Linked DNA regions of Homo sapiens: region 2 is linked to region 1. Evidence: promoter capture Hi-C in 16 types of primary human blood cells and fetal thymus (Javierre and others, 2016). All regions are on one chromosome and are shown on one strand. The core of a region is centred on a gene start or on the middle of the fragment in contact, and the rest is flanking DNA. Distances in the headings are between cores, read along the strand shown. Region 1 holds the start of BAHD1 (bromo adjacent homology domain containing 1). Region 2 has its middle 28 kb from the start of CHST14.

Region 1 (6,368 bases), core at 1,505-4,004:
GGACCGAAGGAAGGAGGAAGAGGTGGAGCCCTTTCCAGCTGTGGAAGGGCTTTGGACTGGGAAAGAAGGAGGCCCAGTTGCAGAGGTCCCTGAAAGTTGGGTGAAGGAGGCTAGGAGAGGCCAAAAGTTCCCTTTGGGGGACAGGCAGGGTGTAGCCCCTGCCTATTCTTTGCTGGCTTGTTTTAACAAGCAATAGGGAGGAAGGGGGGACAGAGGTGGCTCAGTGAGCTGGCACAGGAGGAACACTTAGTGCCTTTAGCCAGCCCGTGTCCCCGCACCATAGCCCACTCAGTCAGAGCCTCCTGGGGCAGCGGACACCGCCACCCACACTGGAGGCTCTGAGGGGAGAACTCCTCCAGCGGCCAGGCAGGCACTTGGTGGGCTGTCATGACTACTCTGCCTCCTCTCCGGTTGGTATTCCTTCCTTTCCCTCCCACTGAGACCCCAGATAAGACAACACTCCCCTGCTCACCCCAGGGCCCTCTAATGCCAACACCAGGAAGACACCCAATCCTGCCACCTCGTCCTGCTGCCATTTCCTCGGCTGAACGTGGGCTTCCTGCCACTTAGGTCTCCTTCCCTGCCACCAGGTACATTCCTCTTCTGGCCCTCCCGGCCTCCATCCCTGCCCATTATCAGGCCTGAAGTGGCTGCCAAGGTCAGCGCCGCCTGGGCTGCAGACAGGAGCCCGGCCTCTCTTCTGTCTTGGCCTGTAGCATGGCTCTGCCCCCGTGGCCACCACTGCTGTACCCTCCACCACCAATCTCTGACGAGTGGGGGCCACCGTGGGGTTAATTTGCCTATGGGCCAGACTGGGACAGGGAGAGGGGGAATTCTGTGAGGTGGGGAGTAGGGCTGGCCTGGTGTGTGTTGGGGGGGCGCTGCCGGGAACCTCTGTCCTGTCCAGGAAGGGGAGAAATCTTTCAGCGTCCTACTTTTACAGCTTTGGGGTTTTGCTTTCCCCAAGGGTGGGAGGTGGGAGAAGTGGCAGTGGGAGAACCTGGACCTTCGAGACATTTCCGTGCCACAGTTTTAGCTTTTAGCTTCCATTCACACACTTTCCCTGCTGAGGGGGCCCCTCCTTTAAGTGTGTCCCCCCAAACAGCTAAGACAGTCTGGGCCCCCTGGACAGCTCTGGAGGCAGATGGGGAACTGCTTCTGGGGGAGGTTGTTTCCCAGCCATATTGGCTAGCAGCCCTGATTGTCTTAAAAGGCTGCCTGGGTGAGCGCTGGAGTCCCAAGGTCTAGGAAAGGCTGGGCGCTGTGTGTGGTGCAGGAGGAGCCCCTCCGAAGCCCCTGGGCCACACTCCAAGGCTGGGTTTTCCTTGCTTGCCTGGGCAGCCTCAGCACTCTGGGTGCCTCTCTCTGCCCAAGGCGTTCCTGGGGCCCAGCCCCTCCCTGGGCTGCTCCAGCGCTCTGGTGACTTGACACTACCCTTTCTGCCGCTGCTCCTTTTACCTCCTAAAGCTCCCCTCCCCCGCCTGAATTGGGAATGAGGCTTTGTTCAGGGGTGAACTCAGCATTTCTCGAGAACCTACTGTGTGCATATCCCGGGCTTAGTGAAGTCCTAGGCGGGCTCTGGCACCACCAGGTGCCCAAGACACAGCTCCTTCCCGCACCTAACAGGGACTTCCCATCTCTCTCTGTGCCCTTAGCCTGCTGTGCCCACCCACCCCACTGACCCCGCGAGCGTGCTCGGGCTTGGGAGGGCACGTCTGTGGGGGTGAGAGACGGAGCCACAGCATTTGGTGACTAGGGGGAAGCCAGGTAAGTGTCTACACTTGGTTCTCCCGTAGCTTGGGGACGCGAGGGAGGGAGTCCAGCCGCTCCTGTCAGGCTGCCCGCCCCTTTCTCCCTCCCCCGGAGAGCTCTGATGTTCCCCGCGGTGGTGGAAGAGGGTGTGTGGGTGTCAAGGACTCACAGACCAGGCTCTGCTGTCAGCTGGAAATGGATGAGGGCTCCACACTCTGCTTCTGAAGAGGGTGAATTAGGAGCTGGGGTTGGGGGCGGTAGGTGAAGGGCAGAAAGAGGAAAAAGAGATGCGGGTGAGGGGTTACCGAGCCAGGACCGACCTTGCTGGAAAGGAAAGGAGACGTGGCAGGCAGGGAAGTCGGAAAGATGAGGCAAGGGCGGGAGGGGCTTCTCAGCAGTCGGGGCCCTTTTGCAGGAGTCTGGGGCCCTTTCTGCAGGAAAGGGGGGTTGTTCTCGCTTGATTTTCGGCTGGTCTTCCTGAAGCTTTGCCCTGGGGGCAGCAGCCTCCGGCGAGGATGGGGTGTTCCTCGGCCCGCAGTTTTCTCCAGCGCGTGCTGGGGAGGATTTGGGGGAAAGGGGATGCGGAGGGGTGATGGCCAGGGCGGGGGGAGATAAGATTTTTCCGGGGGGGCTAGCAGCTGGGAGATTGGGGTCGAGTCACCGTGGGATACGGGCTCAGGTTCTGAAGACGAAGAGAAAAATCCAAGAAGCCGGCAAAGAAAATCACCCCTTGCCACCACCCTTGGCACGGCACCCCTCCCCCAAGGCCCCACCACTCCCCGCACCGCCTCCCCCGGCCGCCTCGTGCTGCCCCCTGCGTTGGGACGACCGACCCACGGTTCTGATTGGTCAGAGACCGGGAGGGGGAGCCGAGGGCCGGATTGGCTGGCGGAGCCAGCGCAGGGCGGGGCGGCTGATTGGCGGAGCTGGCCGAGGGGCGCGCTGCTGATTGGCTGGGGACGAGGAAGCAGGAAGGAGGGCGGCGGAGGCTCCGCTCTCGGGGAGTTTGTGGGGGAACCGCGAGCGGCGTAGCGGATCCCGGAGCCCGGCCCCCGCCGCCCGCCCGTCCGGCTGCCTGCCCCGCCCGTCCGGCCCCCGCCGTCCGCCCGCCCCGGCCAGGCGCGCCCGCCCCCCCCGACGGCCCCGCCCGGCCGCGGTCCCCGCTCCGCCCGCCCGGCCCCGGCCCCCAGGAGGAGGCGCTGACGCAGCAGCGTGGAGCCCGGGAATTGAGCGCCCCCGGGGGGTTCCAGCCGCCGGATTCCAGCCCGGCCGGGGCCTGCGGGCGCCCAGAGCCGCGCCGTCCGCGCCGCCCGTTCTGGTGAGTCAGGGGCCGGGGTCGAGGAGGGGGAAGGGGCGAGCTGGAGGGAGGGAGCGAGCGAGGTAGGCAGAAGAGCGAAGGGGGAGAGCACCGGCCGCCCGTCAGCGCGCCCCACCGAGCGCGCCGCGCCACCGCCCCCGCCAGCCCGGGAAGGGACGGACGGACGGACGACGCGAAGCAGGTGCGGCCGCCCGCCCGCTCGCGCCACCTCCCTCCCCTGGGTCCGGCACCACGGTCCCGCCATCGGGGAACGCGGCGCGCCTCGAGGTGACAGCCCCCGGGGGCCGCCCGCCTTGCAGGCCGGGGGCGGGGTGGGTGGCGGCCGCAGGGTGGCAGCTCGGCCGGGCGGCGGCGGCGCGGGCGTCCCGAGCTGCGGAGGGCGGGAGGACGCCGGTCTTTCCTCGCCGCGGCGGAGCCGGCTCGCCTCCGAGTGCGCGGGCGGCGAGGCCCCCGCCGCGCCCCCTCCCCCATCGCGGTCCCCGAGGCAAGGGGCCGCGGCCGGGGGCGGCGCCGCGGGATCGCCCGCTCAGGGTGGGGGGCGCCCTCCCGCGCTGGGAGCTGACCGGTTATTGCTGGATGGGGGGCAGGGGATGAGGGCCGCGCCGGGCCGGGGGCGGCAGGGGGGAGTAGTGTAGACCCGACTCGATCGGGCTGAGAGGAAGGGAGGCGCCGAAGACGGAAGGGGACCGGTTCGAAAAGCGAGTGTGGGCCGCGGGAGGCCCTGCGGGGACCTTGCGGGGCGGCGGCCGAGTCCGAGGTGTGGCGGGGGGAATCGAAGTTGTCAGACCGCCTCCAAGTGACAGCGGGACCCTGTGCTCGCGGCCCGGCCTGGTCTTGCCCTGCTCGCTCCGCCGCCTCTCTTCTGGGGCTGGGGGCCGGGTCAGGTCGGGCCCGAGGGGCTCGCTTGGCGGTGAAGCGCCGGACAAAGGCGGCGCCGGAGCGGGCGCAGGTGGTGGCGTCGGGGAGGGGAGCGGGTCCGAGGCACCCACTCCGAGGGGCGGGCGACGGGGCCGGACTCTGCCCCGGGGACTGCGGGGGCCGGGGCGCCCGCCGGGAGGAGCTGCGGCACTGGCTTGCCGCTCTAGCCGCTCGCTGTTGGCCTCGAGGCTCTGGGAAGTGGGGTCTACTTGCCGGGGGCCGAGGGGCCGGGGTGGGGGTGTATGCTCATGATGTGCCTTGGCTGGTGGCGACGGGGTTGCTACTCACCGAGGCGACAGACCCAGTGAGCCGCTGTAGAGCCTGTCAAGAATGAGGGGTTTTTCAACAAGCAGAGTCTGCCTACAGGCAGAAGTCTAACCCCACCTGGGACATCTCCTAGTCGCCCATTGTCGACAGTGTTAGAAGTGCAGAAGACTAGTTTGATTAGGACAAGAGACACCCCACCCCGTGGGCTCCCGCCAGCCCTCCGCAGCTGCCTCCAGCACTTTTCCTTAGCCACAAAGGTACCCACTTAGAAAAATGAGAAGCTGAGTTTATAAATCCAGGCAGGAATTTAATAATGAAATAAAAAGCTTTCCAGTCCTTTTACTTTGTGCCACCTGAGACTTTCCTCCCTACTCTCTTCACCTCGCTGTCTTCCACAAAAAAAAAGAAAAAGGGCCCAGAGGGACCACATGTCTTGGAGGGGCACCACTGTCCTTGGCCAGCTTGGAGGATGCTTAGGAACCACTGGCTTAAGCTGTGAGTGCCTCCATCTCCCCCGGTGACCAGCTGTGAGCTGGATGTTGTTTACCTGCTTGGAAAAACTCATTCAGAGCTCCCATGCCCTCCATGTGAACCCCACACCCAAAAGAAGAGTTGGGATCATAAGGACAGGGAAACTCAGGCTGTTTCAGAATGTGGATTTTGCTGAGAATCTGAGTTCGAGTCCCACCTCAGGTAGGGCTGGTTAGAAGCCGCTCTCAACTGTGGTTGGCTGTAATCCCACCTGGGAAAGCTGCTTGTCTGCCACTTCAGAGGGTAGCATGGGCATGGGAGTTTATTCATGGCCACCCCCCATGGACCTCCCTGGAATGATCTAGACCCCAGCCTGGATGGAGCTGAGGCTTGTGAGAAAGGTAGGTATTACCTCACTCAGGAGGCTAAAGTTTGTTCTGAGATAATTTAATTGCATGTCTAAAATCCAGAGAGTGATGATGAATCTCAAGGCCTTTGTGCCTTCTGTGAGGCTACACGGCATGTGATTTCTTTTGGTGGCAGTCAGAAGGGGATGACGTGGTCTGGCCACTGGAATATGAAGGGGAGTTGCCCAAATAGCATTTCCCTCTTTGGTAGGGCTCTTACCTGGCAGGAGACTCATGCCAGTCGGATCTGGTGTTAAGGAGGGTTTGCTCCGGAGAGTTTAGCCAGTGATTAGGTTCTTTTTGATATCTCCCTCTCTTTCTTCCTTTCTGTTGTCCTGCTGTCCCCGTGTCAGGCCTGTGTTGTTGTTATAGCCTCCCTTTCCCTCCTGCTTCCTTTGGCCCTTCTGATCCAGTCTGTATGCAGCTACCAGGTCATTCTTCCTAAAACACCCCTTCCCGGTGTCACTCCCTTTCTCACAGACTTGCAATGGCTCCCCGTTCCCTGCAGTCTGACCCTAGACAGTGTCCCCTCCAGCTCTTCCCTAGCCATACCATGCACATTTTTTCTTCCTGCATCTTCACTGCTGCCGCTCCCCTTCCTTTACTCCCACTTGAATCCCACTTGTCCTTAGTCTGGTTGTTGCTCAGACCACTCCAGGCCAACATAGTCATCCCCGCCTGAGCTCATGACTCTGGATTTTCTAACGTGGTATCCTCTTGAGTGGTTTTGTAGGTTGGAAATTTCTTAAGGACAGGAACAATATGAGTGTTAAACCTCTGTGTGTGTGTGTGTGTGTGTGAATATTCTGGTATTTCTTGTACAGTGCTGTGCACATCATTTTTGTTGAGTGAATAAATGTGGTTGGTTGCTGAGTTAGGCAGGAACAAGGGGGAGACCTTCCTTTCAGCTTCTCCAGAAATGCTCATATTGGAGTCCTTGGAGATTTCCAGCCCTTTCTGTCAAAGGCATATGGATAGGGCATGTTTGGGGTGCTGTAAATGGGAAATTTAACTGCTGTTTCTAATATTTCTGCTGGTGAAGAGTCCTATGGATTGCTTATGTGATACCATATAGACATTGGAAAAGGGCTGTAATCCTGTTTTCCTCCTACCTCACCGGACCACCATTCTTTCTACCCAGCTTTGCTGCTCTTATGCAGTTTTCCTTGTTGTTCATGCTAAATGAATCCATGTTTTATCTCTTCTCAAACCGGGTGCAAATGAGGGAGAAAACA
Region 2 (6,368 bases), core at 2,303-4,802, 58 kb after region 1:
TTCCCCTGCTTCAGCCTCCCGAGTAGCTGGGACTACAGGCATGCGCCACCACACCTGGCTAATTTTTGTATTTTAGTAGAGACGGGGTTTCACCATGTTGGCCAGGATGGTCTCGACCTCCTGACCTCATGATCCACCCGCCTTGGCCTCCCAAAGTGCTGGGATTATAGGCATAAGCCACTGCACACAGCCTAAGCCTTGCTTTTGTACTCTATTCCTGTCTTGATGAACAAGACCTCTATTCATGCAGTTTCACAGGCCACACACCTGAGAATCTTGCTTAACCCCTTTTTCTCCCCATGTTCCAGTCAGTCGTCAATCTTGTTTTATCTTCAAGATGCCTCCACTTCTCTGTATCTCTACTCCTTCTCTAGTGCCACAATTAAGGTGATGACTAATACTGTCTTGTGTCTGAACTATTGCAATAGCCTCCTTTCTAGCTTCCCAAATCTCCATTGTCCCATTCCAGCCCAGTCCGCTTACATCCTTCAGTAACTTCCCTCCACTCTTAGGATAAGGACCCATATACTCAGCACAGCCATAGAATAAAGACCTACATACTCAGCACAGCCATAGACCCTGCATGGTCCACCCTGTCTTCCTTTCTCACCTCCACTTCCTAGAACACTTTTTCTAGCCACATAGGCTTTTCAGGTGTCAGTTACACCTGCTTCCCTGCCTACCACAGAGCCTCTGCACATGCTGTTCCCTCTTAAATGCTTTCCCTCCTCTGCTTCTACCTTGCATTGTCTGTCATCCTTCAGACCTTCCCAGTTGTCACTTCCTCAGGGGAGCCTCCTTGACCCCCTCCAGTAGATAAGTTGGCCTGCTATAAGCTTTCACAGTGAGATGCACCTCATCTTTATGGCCCTCCTGTCTATGTGTGATTATATATCTCCTAGGGCAATTATTTAATTAATGGCTGGCTCCCAATTAGCCAATGAATTTCAAGCAGATAGACACCATATATCTACTTGTGCTTACCTTTGTGCCTTCAGCTTAGCTATTGCAAATACTAAGAATGTTAAACTGTTGAACAATAAAAGCGGTTTTTCAATTTTGTTTTAAAGTATTTTAGTGGCTGTGCAAGGTGGCTCATGCCTGTAATCTCAGCACTTTGGGAGGCAAGGTAAGAGGATCGCTTGAGTCCAGGAGTTCAAGACCAGCCTGGGCAACATAGTGAGCCCTTCTCTCTACAAAAAGAAATTAAAAAATTAGCCAGGTGTGATGATGGCATGTACCTGTAGTCCTGGCTACTCAGAAGGCTGAGAAGGGAGGATGGCTTGAGCCCAGCAGTTAGAGGCTGCAGTGAGCTATGATTGCACCATTGCACTCCAGCCTGGATGACAGAGCAAGACCTTGTCTCTAAAAAAATAAAAATAAAAAATGTTTTAGTGGGTTTGTATTTGCATTTCCTTAAATAACTATAAATATAAAGGTTTTCTACTTGCCTCTTTTGATATATTTCTCAATCATGAATGGATCTACAAAAAGGGAGGAAGTGGTAGGCACCCAAAGAGCCAGAGCCTGCAGTAAATGAGGTTTTTGATGTCCCAGGTCTTATTTAAATCCTGAATGTCGGCCGGGCGCCATGGCTCATACCTGTAATCCCAGCACTTTCGGAGGCCAAGGCGGACGGATCACGAGGTCAGGAGATCGAGACCATCCTGGCTAACACAGTGAAACCCTGTCTCTACTAAAAATACAAAAAATTAGCCAGGTGTGGTGGTGGGTGCCTGTAGTCCCAGCTACTCGGGAGGCTGAGGCAGGAGAATGGCGTGAACCCGGGAGGCGGAGCTTGCAGTGAGCTGAGATCGTGCCACTGCACTCCAGCCTGGGCGACAGAGTGAGACTCCGTCTCAAAAAAAAAAAAAAAAAAAAAAATCCTGAATGTCACAGGTGTTACTGCACTTCTGACTCAGTGCTGTTGAAAATGTCCCCCAGGAGACTGCCACTTGTTTCAAGGGACTATGAGCCATGTTACCTCCCAATTCTGGACATTTTCTAAGCTGTAACATCATGTTTTCGTAATCTGACAACCTGCAGCTCAGTTAATGACATAAAACAATTCCATGATCTCTAAGACAAGCCCCCAGCACATTGAAGTCACTGGATGAGACCTCAGCACCATGGGCCCCTCCTCTCCACTGGGCTGACTCTGCCAACTCACTCTCACCTGAAACTGCCCTTGCTGCTCCTGCCTCTGCCATGTCTACCACTCTGTATAGCTGCCCTTTTCTTACTGCTGTGGCCTCTGGCTGCCAAAAAGAGACAGGGCCACTACCCTGGCCCTCATGACATTCAACTGCAGCTGCCATCTCTGCTAATGTGAGAGGAGGGATGGTTTCTCCACTGACATCAAGCCCAGCTCTCTTGAGTCTGGGCCAGACCTTGAATAGTCTGGCTTGTGAACGAGACACCAGCTAGTTCTTCCAGATGGTGTTCATGTGGCCCAGCGCTCTCCTACCTTAGGACGAGTTCCTGCCCACCCAGCTTGCTTCTCTCAGAAGTTTGGGGCAGCATTTTTCTACCTTTCTTATTTAGGATCCCAACCTTTTTTTTGAGACGGAGTCTCGCTCTGTCACCCAGGCTGGAGTGCAGTGGTGTGATCTCGGCTCACTGGAACTTCCACATCCCAGGTTGAAGTGATTCTCCTGCCTCAGCCTCACAAGTAGCTGGGACTTCAGGGGTGTGCTACCACACCTGGCTAATTTTTGTATTTCCAGTAGAGACGGGGTTTCACCATGTTGGCCAGGCTGGTCTCGAACTCCTGACCTCAGGTGATCCACCCGCCTTGGCCTCCCAAAATGCTGGGATTACAGGCGTGAGCCACTGCGCCTGGCCCCCAGAGCCCAACCTTGAATCCCAGCATCCTCTCTGCCATTTCCCAAGACACCCAGTGGGCCTCTGGATAAAAGACGTTTTTGATAGAGAGTTCTGTTATCCCAGACCCCGAGGTGACCCTAGCATAATCCCTGGACACTCCCCTATGCTGAGGCTTCTCCCCTAGACCCCCATTCTATTACATAGTCTGTGCCCCCTCAGCTCAGTCATTACTTTTCTGGGCAGCCTCCTTTGACCTGCAGACCAGATCAGATCTCTGTGGTTTGCTCCCTGATCACTGTGTCCTTCTCCTCTGTAGCTCTTACCACAGCTTGTAATTCTATATTTGATGCATGTCTATATCCCCCTCTATAAGGTGAGGTCATCAAAGGCAGCAGTTCTGTCTTTCTTGCCTACCACTGCATCTCCAGCATGCTGCTCATCTGGTCCGTGGTAGGGTTCAGTATTTGTTGAAGGAGTGAATGAACTATGATTCACTTCATTACGTGTCGGTCTTTTAAAAACATTTATCTTCAATACACCCGTTTCTCTGTGATGGCAAGTAAAACATTTTTGGAGGCAGTCACTAACCAGCATGCATTGCATGTGTGAGCACCACAATATTTTTATACTTGTGGGTTCGATAATCCAACCACATGCTTTATTAAAGTATTTCTTTCAGGGTTGTAAAAAACACTTCATTACTGGCTTGCGGGCAACCTGGCTCTGGGGGAAAAGGGTCGTGTTACCACACTGCAGATAGGTGAGGATACCAGTGCCAGGCAGGGAGGAGGCTGTGAGGATGCCCAGCCCCTGCTTAGGGATACTGCTTCCCCCCCTTCACTTTTGCAGATTGCAGAGGGCTTGAAGAAGGGATGCAGGCAGTTTGAGCACTGAGTGGCACGTATTCCTGCAATCCCCAAAGTCATGAGGGGGCTCTTTGGAGGGGGTCTCAGAATTGGACTGTATGGTTTGATTTCACGTATTTCTGGGTTTGCTTTGTAGTTTGTCAAGTCATCATACTGTATGCTACTGGCAGATGATAATATGTTAACCAAAAACGACAACAAAGCAGTTGTGATGCGAAGGATGAGGCTAGACTTGGAGTCAGAACCATCATCCAGTACATTGGTTCTTGGCACATAGTGAGAAAGAACCCTTGTGGAATGGAAGGAGAAGCTCCTGGGAAGCAGCGTGTGAAGGTGGAAAGGGTCTTGTTGCCAAGGCAATAACCATTCACTTCCATGGAGCACTGGCCAGGGGCAGGTGCTGTGCTGAGCACTTTGCATGCATGATCCCATTTAACCCCACAGTAATCTATGAGGTTTTTTTTTTTCTTTCTCTTTTTTCTTTTTTAGAGACAGGGTCTTTGTCACCCAAGCTGGAATGCAGTGGTGTGATGATAGCTCATGTGGTCTCAAACTCCTGGGCTCAAATCATCCTCCCACCTCAGCCTCCCGAGTAACTGGGACTACACGTGTATGTCATCATGTCCAGCTAAGTTTTTTGTTTTTTGGGGTTTTTTTCTGAGACAGAGTCTTACTCTGTCACCCAGGCTGGAGTGAAGTGGTGTGATCTCGGCTCACTGCAACCTCTACCTTCTGGGTTCAAGCAATTCTCCTGTCTCAGCCTCACAAAAAGCTGGAATTACAGGCGTGCACCATCACACCTGGCTAATTTTTAAATTTTTAGTAGAGACGGGGTTTCACCATGTTGGCCAGGCTGGTCTCCAACTCCTGACCTCAGGTGATCCGCCCATCTCAGCCTCCCAAAGTGCTGGGATTACAGGCGTGAGCCACCGCGCCCAGCCTTTTTTTAAAAATTATTGTAGAGACAGGTCTTGCTATGTTGCCCAGGCCGGTCTCAAACTCCTGGGCACAAGTGATTCTCCTGCTTCAGCCTTCTGAGTCCCTGGGATTACAGATGAGAACCACTCACCTGGCCAATTAGGGTTCTTATCAACATTTTCCATAATGAAACCATGTGTCAGAGTGAAAAAATGTGCCTGAGGTAACACAGCTAATAAATGTCAGAGCCAGGATTTGAAGCTAGTTCTGTTGGACTTGACATCAATCCACGTAACCTTGGGATACACTGGTTATCAGCTAAGTTGCATTCAAGCCCTTGCTCTTCCATTATGGCTGTGTGTCTTTACCTTATTTCTGTGAAAACATTATGTGCAAAATGTGAATAATAATACCTATGGCAAAATATTTCTGCAAAGATTAAATGAAACTGTGGATGAATACTTTAGAACTATACTGTCTGATACAGCAGCCATTAGCCACATGTAGCTATTGAACTTGGAATATGGCTAGTCTGAATTGAGATGTTTTATAAGTGTAAAAAATACACTGGATTTTGAATACTTAGTGGGAAAAAATGTAAAATTTCTCAGTTTTTCTGTATTGAATACATGTTGAAACGATAATATTTTGGATATACTGGGTTAAATAAAATACATTACTAAAATTAATTTCACCTGTTCCTTTTTACTTTTTAAATGTGATTACTAGAAATTTAAAATTATATATGTGACTCACATTACATTTCTATTGTACAGCACTGCTCTGGAGCCCTATAAATATGATTTATTATTGTTATGGTAATTTCACTCAGAACAATATTCTATTTCATCACTGAGGTCATCACCTAGACTGAGTCTGCCATAGAATGAGTCACCATTTTTCTATAAATGTGAGTTTTAGTATATAAAAAGATTATAAGTATTCATCTTTTGAATCCAGTCTTTCTCGTATGTATTTTATTGTCGTTTTTCAAATACACAGAGTCTTCCAAGGAGACAGAAGTCCCTATGTCTGGAGAAATTAACCCGTTCAAATATATAAATGACAATTTAAAACATTCTGACCCACATACTTTATTCAGGTAACTGGAGAATAACCTTCATCTTGTGGAGCACAGAATCACTTTTTCCTTGCACATGGTGGAAATAATTCCCTCCCTCCCCCCACATTACTCATCAAATGTTGTATCTTCCAATTCAAAATAATGCCTGAATCATTACTGTTTCAAACCACTATCTGTGAAAGCATATCATTTTAAGGCATGCGTAAAGTTTGTGTTCTTATTTGACCCATCATTCCAGCCTGGATACTCTTGGATCCTGATTTTCTCAATGAACATAATACTATCCCTTTCTACCTTATGTTTTTATGCAAATTTCATTTTAGACTTTCTGTAATTCCTTCAGGTCACTAAATGATAAAAGACGACATGGCTAAAGATAGTTAACTAAATTATAATCTCCATAAGGACAGAAGGCCCAAATTTACATACCTGAAATAGAGGACTGGTCTACATTCCATATTGAAGTTAAATTCCAAGAAAATGCAATTTACAATGAAAGGATTTTTTGTTTTCTTTCGTGGGTAACACTAGCTATTGTAACACATAATCCCAACATATAACAGGTTTAATATAACAAGCTTATTTCTACTACCCGTAACAATCCAGTGCTAATATTACTGGTCAGTTGGGTGCCTTGTGCCTTTCCTCCTCTGGTGATTCATGCCTAGGTGATT

Evidence for each region. Contacts are between HindIII fragments. The CHiCAGO score rates a contact against its expected background, and 5 or more counts as called.
Region 2: a fragment that was not itself captured here is called in contact with the fragment with the promoter of BAHD1 in region 1 in 1 of 17 cell types (M2 macrophages); the score reaches 5.6 in M2 macrophages.

The regions. Positions count from the first base shown.
Region 1 is chr15:40,438,199-40,444,566 of GRCh38, forward strand. BAHD1 (bromo adjacent homology domain containing 1) reads left to right here and starts at 2,755. Exons shown (of 7, transcript NM_014952.5): 1 at 2,755-3,070. RefSeq lists enhancers at 1,461-1,998, 2,804-3,305, 3,306-3,805 and silencers at 2,461-3,130, 2,557-2,742, 3,191-3,250, 3,971-4,090, 4,111-4,180. The HindIII fragment of the contact is 2,346 bases long and covers 2,234-4,579 here.
Region 2 is chr15:40,495,315-40,501,682 of GRCh38, forward strand. No RefSeq gene overlaps it. Among named protein-coding and RNA genes, the nearest start is that of CHST14, 28 kb to the left of the region's middle. The HindIII fragment of the contact is 5,436 bases long and covers 835-6,270 here.